Regions from separate parts of the Homo sapiens genome. Here region 1 is linked to region 2. The links are contacts of gene promoters, found by promoter capture Hi-C in human tissues and cell types (Jung and others, 2019). All regions are on one chromosome and are shown on one strand. The core of a region is centred on a gene start or on the middle of the fragment in contact, and the rest is flanking DNA. Distances in the headings are between cores, read along the strand shown.

The links. Contacts are between HindIII fragments. The study calls those that stand out against the background at their distance.
Region 1: a fragment that was not itself captured here is called in contact with the fragment with the promoter of PLEKHM3 in region 2 in 1 of the 25 tissues and cell types used here (aorta).

Annotation. Positions count from the first base shown.
Region 1 is chr2:208,075,944-208,079,972 of GRCh38, reverse strand. It overlaps LOC105373854 (a long non-coding RNA gene), which reads right to left. Exons shown (of 4, transcript XR_923815.3): 4 at 2,775-3,017. Among named protein-coding and RNA genes, the nearest start is that of CRYGD, 47 kb to the left of the region's middle. The HindIII fragment of the contact is 3,796 bases long and covers 1-3,551 here.
Region 2 is chr2:208,023,644-208,027,721 of GRCh38, reverse strand. PLEKHM3 (pleckstrin homology domain containing M3) reads left to right here and starts at 2,195. Exons shown (of 8, transcript NM_001080475.3): 1 at 2,195-2,333. The HindIII fragment of the contact is 4,894 bases long and covers 884-4,078 here.

The sequences.
Region 1 (4,029 bases), core at 404-2,903, 53 kb before region 2:
CCAAACTTCTTGGAGACTTCGTTCATTTTTTTAATTTGTTTTTCTTTGTCTTTCTCAGATTGGGCTAATTCGAAAGCCTTGTCTTCAAGCTCTTAAGTTCTTTCTTCTACTTGTTCTATTCTATTGTTGAGACTTTCCAGTGTATTTTGCAATTCTCTAAGTGTGTCCTTCATCTCCAGGAGTTGTGATTGTTTCTTATTTATGCTATCTATTTCTCTGGAGATTTTTCCTTCCATACCCTGTAACATTTTTAAAATGTCTTTAAGTTGGTATTTACCTTTCTCTGGTGCCTCCCTGAGTAGCTTAATAATCGACCTTCTGAATTTTTTTGCTGGCCATTTAGAGATTTCTTCTTGGTTTGGATTGTGAACCTAGAAAACCTGAGACAGCTCTCAGTTAATTTAGAAAGTTTATTTTGCCAAGGTTGAGGACGGACCATGACACTGCCTCAGGGAGTTCTGATGACATGCCCAAGGTGGTCGGGGGCACAGCTTGGTTTTATCCATTTTAGGGAGACAGAAGACAACAATCAATATATGTAAGAAGTACATTGGTTCTATCTGGAAAGGCGGGACAACTTGAAGCAAAGACAGGAAGATTCAAAGCAGGGAGGGATCTTCCAGGTCACAGTTAGGTGAAACACAAACAGTGCATTCTTTTGAGTTTCTGATTAGCCTTTCCAAAGAAGGCAATCAGATATGCATCTATCTCAATGAGCAGAGGGATAACTTTGAATAGAATGGAAGGCAGATTTGCCCTAAGCAATTTCCAGCTAGTTTTTCCTAGTGATTTTGGGGCCCAAGATATTTTCCTTTCACAGGATCCATTGCTGGTGAGCTAGTGTGATCTTTTGGGGGTGTTAAAGTGCCTTGTTTTATCATATTACCAGAATTGTTTTTCTGGTTCCTTCTCATTTGGGTAGACTATGTCAGAGGGAAGATCTGGGGCTCAAGGGCTGCTGTTCAGATTCTTTTGTCCCATAGGGTGCTCCCTTGCTGTGGGGCTCTCCCCTTTCCCCTTGAGATAGGACTTCCTGAGAACCAGACTGCAGTGATTGTTATTTCTCTTCTGGGTCTAGCCACCCAGTGGAGCTACTGGGCTCTGGGCTGGTACTGAGGAGGGTCTGCAAAGAGTCCTGTGATGTGCTCCATCTTCAGATCTCTCAGCTGTGGATACCAGCACCTGCTCCAGTGGAGGTAGCAGAGGAGTGAAGCGGACTCTGTAAGAGTACTTGGTTGTAGTTTTGTTTAGCGTGCCGGTTTTCTCAAATGCTGGTTGTACTGACAGTAAAGCTATCATGTGGACAGACTTAGGACCTCTGGTTAGCCAGGATGTTACAGGCAGTGGAGTTAACCATTGTTTTCTCCTTTCTTGGGGCAGGGTTATTCTTTGATGAGTTGCTGTAACAGTTTGTGTTGGTTGGCCTCCAGCTAGGAGGTGGCGCTTTCAAGACAACTTCAGACAACTTCAGCTGCGGTAGTATGGGGGGACGCAAGCTTGCCCTAGGGTCTCCTGGATGAGCCTTCAGGTTTCTCAGGTGATGGGCGGGGCCCTAGAACTTCCATGAGTTGTACGTCTTTTGTTTTTGGCTACCAGGGCAGGTGGAGAAAGACCATCTATCTGGTGGGGGTAGAGTCAGGTGGGTCTGAGCTCAGACTCTCCTTGGGCGGGGCTTGCCGCAGCCACCTTGGGGGAGGGGGTGTGGTTCTCAGGCCATTGGAGTAGGTTCCCAGTAGGACTATGGCTGCCTCTGCTGTCATACAGGTCGCCAGGGAAGTTGCGGAAAACTGGCAGTGACGGGCCTCACCCAGCTCCCACGCAGACTGAAAGGCCAGTCTCACTCTCCCAGTGCTCCTCGACAGCACCGAGTTTATATCTAGGTGAGTTTATTTGCCAGTGAGCAGGACTGGGAACTCCCTCCACCGCCACCATACAAGCCTCGCGCCTAATAAAGCAAGCAGGGCTTTCAGGCCTTCCCCTCCTCGCTGCGGCTTCTGTGCTCCTATCTGGACTTCCTGTTTGCCCCCGACCCCAGATTCTGCTCTGGAAAATTCATGCTTGAAATCATTATAAAGTTCAGCTGGAAGTTTCCTTCTCCCTGTGGGCTTTCCCTAATTCCACTGGCAGCCCGCTCCCCACAAGGGCCCCTGTGAGATAAAGTCAGAAATGGGTTCTCTGAGCTTCCCTGGGGACCGGGAGTGCCTACAGGGCTCTTCCTGCTGCTGCTTCTACTTTTATATTTTGCTCAGCTCTCTAAATTCGCCTCAGCTCTAGGTAAGGTTAAATCCTTCTCCCATGATATGGATTTTCAGGCTCCCCAGTGAGGATGTGTGTTTGGAAAGAGACTTTCCCCCTCTCACACTCTGGGCACTCACGGTTTTTCAGCTGTGTCTTGGAGTTTGCAGCGGCAAACTCTTCTTTCAAAGGGTCTGTGAATTCTTTTGGTTTTCCTGGTATGTTCTTGCAGTAGTTCTTGGAGCAAAAGTTCACAATGTGAGTCTCCTCATGCTGCAAGTCAGCATGAGAGCTGCAAGTCAGTCCTGTCCCCCATCTGGCAGCTATTTTTATTATGCCTTCTCTTGCCATTCTTGAGAATGTCCAGTGATTGTCTTCCAAGGAAAAACTTTGTATGCTATATTTTCTACCATGCTATTTCATCATCAAATCCTAAATTATCTTTCTAGGTGTGATGAATGAGACAAAAATGCCTGGGATACTTTCCCATATCACTCTGAAGCATCAGCATCCGAAAAAGAAGCAGATGGCACACTCAATATGGATAAATTGAGGATATTTTAATAAAGGGTCTATCTATAATGGTGTAAGCCAGATTAGGGAAACTAGAAAAGAGAAAGTGTAGCACCCTGGAGCTAGCAGTGGGGGAAGCCATTACTTCCTCCCAACTCCCTAACCTAAGGCTCAAGGAAAAAGAGCAACTGTTGCAACCCAGAGAGCTTAGCCATCTAGGGAGGTCTTCTGAAAAGAGCAGTGGCCTTCAGAAGAAGGATGCAGCCAACCTGTGGAGACACAGCAATAGGGAAACAGGTGAATAAATATCCTGGCCTCACTCTTCTCCCACTCTCAGATCCCTTAATGGTATTCACCCTTGGCCAAACTCAAACCACGGGCAAACAAAGCAGTTGAGCCCCCCATAATCATGCTGTTCTTTGTTCTGTTAGATCTTGGAAAGAGTGACATCCCTCCTCCATTCTAGCTTGTCACTTTTTAGGACTTTTTTTCTCAGCCACACAAGGATGACTCAAACACCCCTAAAGTGCAATGTTTTAGCGGGGAAGAATTTTTGATGGAAGTCTAGAAGTACTGAGTGTACAAGTACCTAAATGCTTACTTCACTCAAACAACCTCTGGACCAAAGCATCTCTCTTTCCTAGTTTAGAAACTAGTGATTAGCAAGTGATTAGTAATTGACATCCAGTTTAAAAATAAAAGTTGACTTGACTGATTTCATCATTGAAACTAGTGCTAAATCCTTTGGACTCGTTTAAATATTGGATTCATAACACAACAAACATTTATTCAAATTCTACTATGGCTCAGGGCCTCCATGCATGCTATGGCTTAAGGACACAGGCACATAAGACATCAAATAGCATATTTCTTCACTCAACAAGTGTTTCTTGAGAGCTTTCTATGTGCCAAGTACTACGTGAGATTTATAGTCTAGAGGGAGGGAGGCAGAACAGTAATAACGGTAAATGAGATAATTATAATGCAAGGTGATAGTATTTTAATAGTTATGTGAGTCTATAGAGTTATAAAGGCAAAAGAGAAAAACCCTCATGGCTTGTTATGCGATGAAGCTAATGCTGAACAAATACCACATATTCCTGAGTATGGTCTTCCTGAAGACCAAATTCTTCCTTTTTTTTTTTTTTAAGATGGAGTCTCGCTCTGTCGCCCAGGCTGGAGTGCAGTGGCGCGATCTCGGCTCACTGCAAGCTCCGCCTCCCGGGTTCACGCCATTCTCCTGCCTCAGCCTCCCGAGTAGCTGGGACAGGCGCCCGCCAC
Region 2 (4,078 bases), core at 946-3,445:
TGTAATGGGTACATTTATAAAGGAACACATGAGATCCTCTAGGAGTGCATAAAAGGAGCAGGTTCCCCTATCAGGCAAGGTTTCCAGAAGAGGTGTGATGTCATCTGCTTTTTTTTTTTTTTTGAGACAGCGTCTCGCTCTTTTGCACAGGCTGGAGTGCACTGGCTCAATATCAGCTCACTGCAACCTGCGTCTCCTGAGTCCAAACGATTCTAGTGCCTCAGCCTCCTAAGTAGCTGGGATTACAGGTCGTGTGCCACCATGCCTGGCTAATTTTCGTTTTAGTAGAGACAGGGTTTCACTATGTTGCCCAGGCTGGTCTCGAACTGCTGGCCTCAATCAATCCACCCGCCTCGACCTCCCAAAGTGCTGGGATTACAGGCGTGCACCGCCATGCTCTGCTAATTTTTGTATTTTTAGTAGAGATGAGGTTTTATCATGTTGGTCAGTCTGGTCTCGAACCGCTGGCCTCCAGCGATCCACCCGCCTTGGCCTCCCTAAGTGCGTGGATTACAGGCACGAGCTACCACACCCGGCCTTTTTTTTTTTTTTTTTTAGAGTGAAAGTTTATTAAAAAGCTTTAGAGTAGTAATGAAGGGAAGGAAAAGAAGAAAAGAACACTTGGAAGAAGACCAAGCAAGTGACTTGAGAGACCAAGCACCTGTTACCTGCTTCTTAAAGAGCAAAGAGAAATTAGCCAGCCTAAGTAAGAGGATGGGCCAGGAGTGAGAACTCTCATCAGAGGGAATCACATGTACAAAGTCCTGAGGCAAAAGAGAATACTGCAAATATTCTCTTTTGGTAATTAAAACAAAACAAAACAAAAAATGTACCTCTGGCCAGGTGAGGTGGCTCACACCTGTAATCCCAGCACTTTGGAAGGCAAGGAAGAAGGATTGCCTGAGGCCAGGAGTTCAGGATCATCCTGGGCAACACAGGGAGACCTTGCCTTTACAAAAAAAAAAAAAAGAGAAAGAAAGAAAAAAGAAGTTAGCCACGTTGTGGTGATGCGTGCCTGTAGTCCTAGCTACTCAGGAGGCTGAGTTGGGGGGATCCCTTGAACCCAGGAGTTCAGGGCTGCAGTGAGCTATGATCGTGCGACTGCACTCTGGCCGGGGCACAGAGTGAGATCCTGTCTCTAGCAAAACAGAAAAAAAAGTACCTCAAATTGCAGGGTTTAAAGAAAGCTTATTTAAACTTTGAATATCAACCAAAGGAAATTTTTTCTTAACTCAAAGCTTAAAGATTTGCTTATTAATCTTCTGGAGGGTGGGAAGGTGGGAAGAGGAATCAGAGTTTTAGATTTCTGTTTCATCCCTGACCCCTTTGACCTTTTTTTTTTTTTATCATTCCTTTGTTCATTCATTTATTCAGATATATATACATTGGGCCTGTGCTAGGTGCCTACTAGATGGTGGTGAGTGAAACTGAAATAGTGCCTGCCCTCAGGGAGTTTATAGGTGAGATGGGTGAGCGTGGGAAAACCAATAAAACTGATAAATAAGTGTGTACTTATAAAGTGAGAAAATGGCTAAGAAGTGTGCTATGATGGAAAACAGACAGGAAACTGCAAGGAAGGTCTGTCCAATCAGACCAGCATATCCCTGCAAAGCGACCACAGTCACTGCAGGTGGGATGTGGGCGGTCTTACCAGGCAGTCCTGCCCGCGTGCACACACACGCACACCCTATTTTGCTGGGAATCCGCAAGTGGGGGTGAAGACCTCACCTCAAAACCACCCCTTTTCAACCTGCGTAGGAAAGGACAGTGAAAACGGATTTTCACTGCAGCCCCAAAACCGGAAATGAGAAGCAATCTCCAGAATAGTCCCACTTTTGGAAAGAACTTATTTGAGTAATTAATTCCCTTAGACAAGGGAGCTGCTAAAAACCAGCCCGATCCTGACATGTTCTAAGTGACATTTTCCAATCGCAAACACCCATTTTGGCGTTGGGTGGAGCAGTGAGGAGACTCCACGACACACGCCATTGCTTTCACAATGTGTACAAGAGGAACTGTATATAAGAAAGCAAAGAAATAAGGAGGCCTGGCGGGTGCGGTCAGGCCTTGCCTAGCTGCCGGGTCCCTCGGGCAGGAAAGACTCGTCCTCGCGGCCTGGAACCTTGTGTGTCCGGCTCTGGCTGCCCGGGCCGCCGGCGGAAGCATTTCAGAGTGGGACCGCGAGAAGCCGCTTGTAAACAGAGCCGGGCCGGGATGGTCAGCGCCCGGGCGGGCTGTCACCGTGAGGCGGGCGGCAGGCTGCGGGAGTCAAGCCCCTCCAGGAGCGGACTGAAGGCCCCGCAGGTGAATGGAGAGTAGCAGCCGGGGCCCAGGTGAGCATCCGTCTGCTTCTGTGCTGCCTGGCCGGCCAGTTTGGGGGATGGGGTGGGGACGACTGCATTGTAAATATCCGAGCAGCTCCCAGGGATAGCAGTGATTTTGCTGTTTCTTGCATGCTCAGGTTTTTATTACGTGCTGGAGATTGTACCACACTGCAATGGCTAATGGGTGAGGGGAGATTACATGATGCATTGTCTGCTTATTTTTGTGAATCAGGTATGTAATAGGAGGAGAAAGTAGTTGAAATAGTAGGTGATCTTGTTGAGTGCGTTATTAGTATCCCTGCCATCCCCGCCTGGGGATTATAAAACCAAACCCCAGCAGAGCTTTTAACCTACATCAGGCTGGGGCTTCCAGAAAACGATTGTTCTTTCTGTCGACTCTGTCCGTTTTTAATGTATAGTAAATGACACCACATGACTGATGACAAGCATGGTTTGGTCTTGTAGGAAAGAATTATTAAGCTAAAAAATCAAGATAAGAAAATCTCACACTCATCCCTTAAACAAAAATAAATTACTACTGAGATATATATTTGGATGACAAATTGAGACTGGTCTGGATGTATACCTTGCAAAGCAAGACAAATTTGAATTTACCAGGTTAAACTGAGATTGAGCCATGCTGTTGTAAACTTATTTAGAAGTTTATTTCTCTCTTCTTTTTTCTTCCTTGGAAGGGACCAGAGAGAAACAGCTGAATTTTTTTCTCTATATTTTAAGTAATCGTAGTGAGTTGTGATTTGTATTTATAAAGTATTTTATTATAAAATACTACATGTAAATTATAATTGGCATACTTAAAATACAAGGCAGTTTTTGACTGACTGACTTCAAGAAAATGCCTTAACAAAAGCTGGGCTATATATCTAGTCTCTAAAAATATCAGTAGACATTTGTAACCTTGGTCACATAGTCTTTTAGACAGGAGATGAATATTAGGTTAAATTGCACCTACAATAGATAGATATACATAGAAGAAATGATACTAATTCCTGATGAGTTTTTCTTTACAATGAATATTTTTACAATGTCATGGTTTATAGCAAAAACTATAAAGCCAGACTACTTCAGTTTGAATTCCTGCTTGGTCACTTCCTAGTTGTGTAATCTTGGGCAGTTTACTTAGCGCTTCTGTTTCCTAATCTGTAGAATGGGAATAATAATAGTATTGACCTCATTAGGGTTTTTATTATTGTTATTTTATTTTATTTTATTTTATTTTATTTTATTTTATTTTGAGACAGGGTCTTACTCTGTCATTCGGGCTGGAGTACAGTGGCGTGATCATGGCTCACTGCAGTCTCGACTTCCTGGACTCAAGCGATCCTTCCACCTCAGCCTCCCTTGTGGCTGGAACCATAGGCACAAGCCACCACGCCTGGCTAATTTTTGTACATTTGGTAGAGACAGGGTTTCGCCATGTTGCCCAGGCTGGTCTTGAACTCCTGAGCTCAAGGCTTAGAACCGTACCTGGCATATAGTAATTGCTATATACATGTTTGTTAATAAATATATAAAATAAAAATATGCCAGTGTTGAAAGTGGAATGGTGATTACCAGGGCCTGGAGGGAGGCAGGCAATGGGGATTTGTTGTTTAATGCTGCGGTCCCCTGGTGGTTTTTGGCACCAGGGACCGGAAGACCATTTTTCCACAGAGCGGGTGGTGTGGGGTCGGGGAGTAGGGGGGTGATAGTTACGGGATGAAACTGTTCCACCTCAGATCATTAGGCATTAG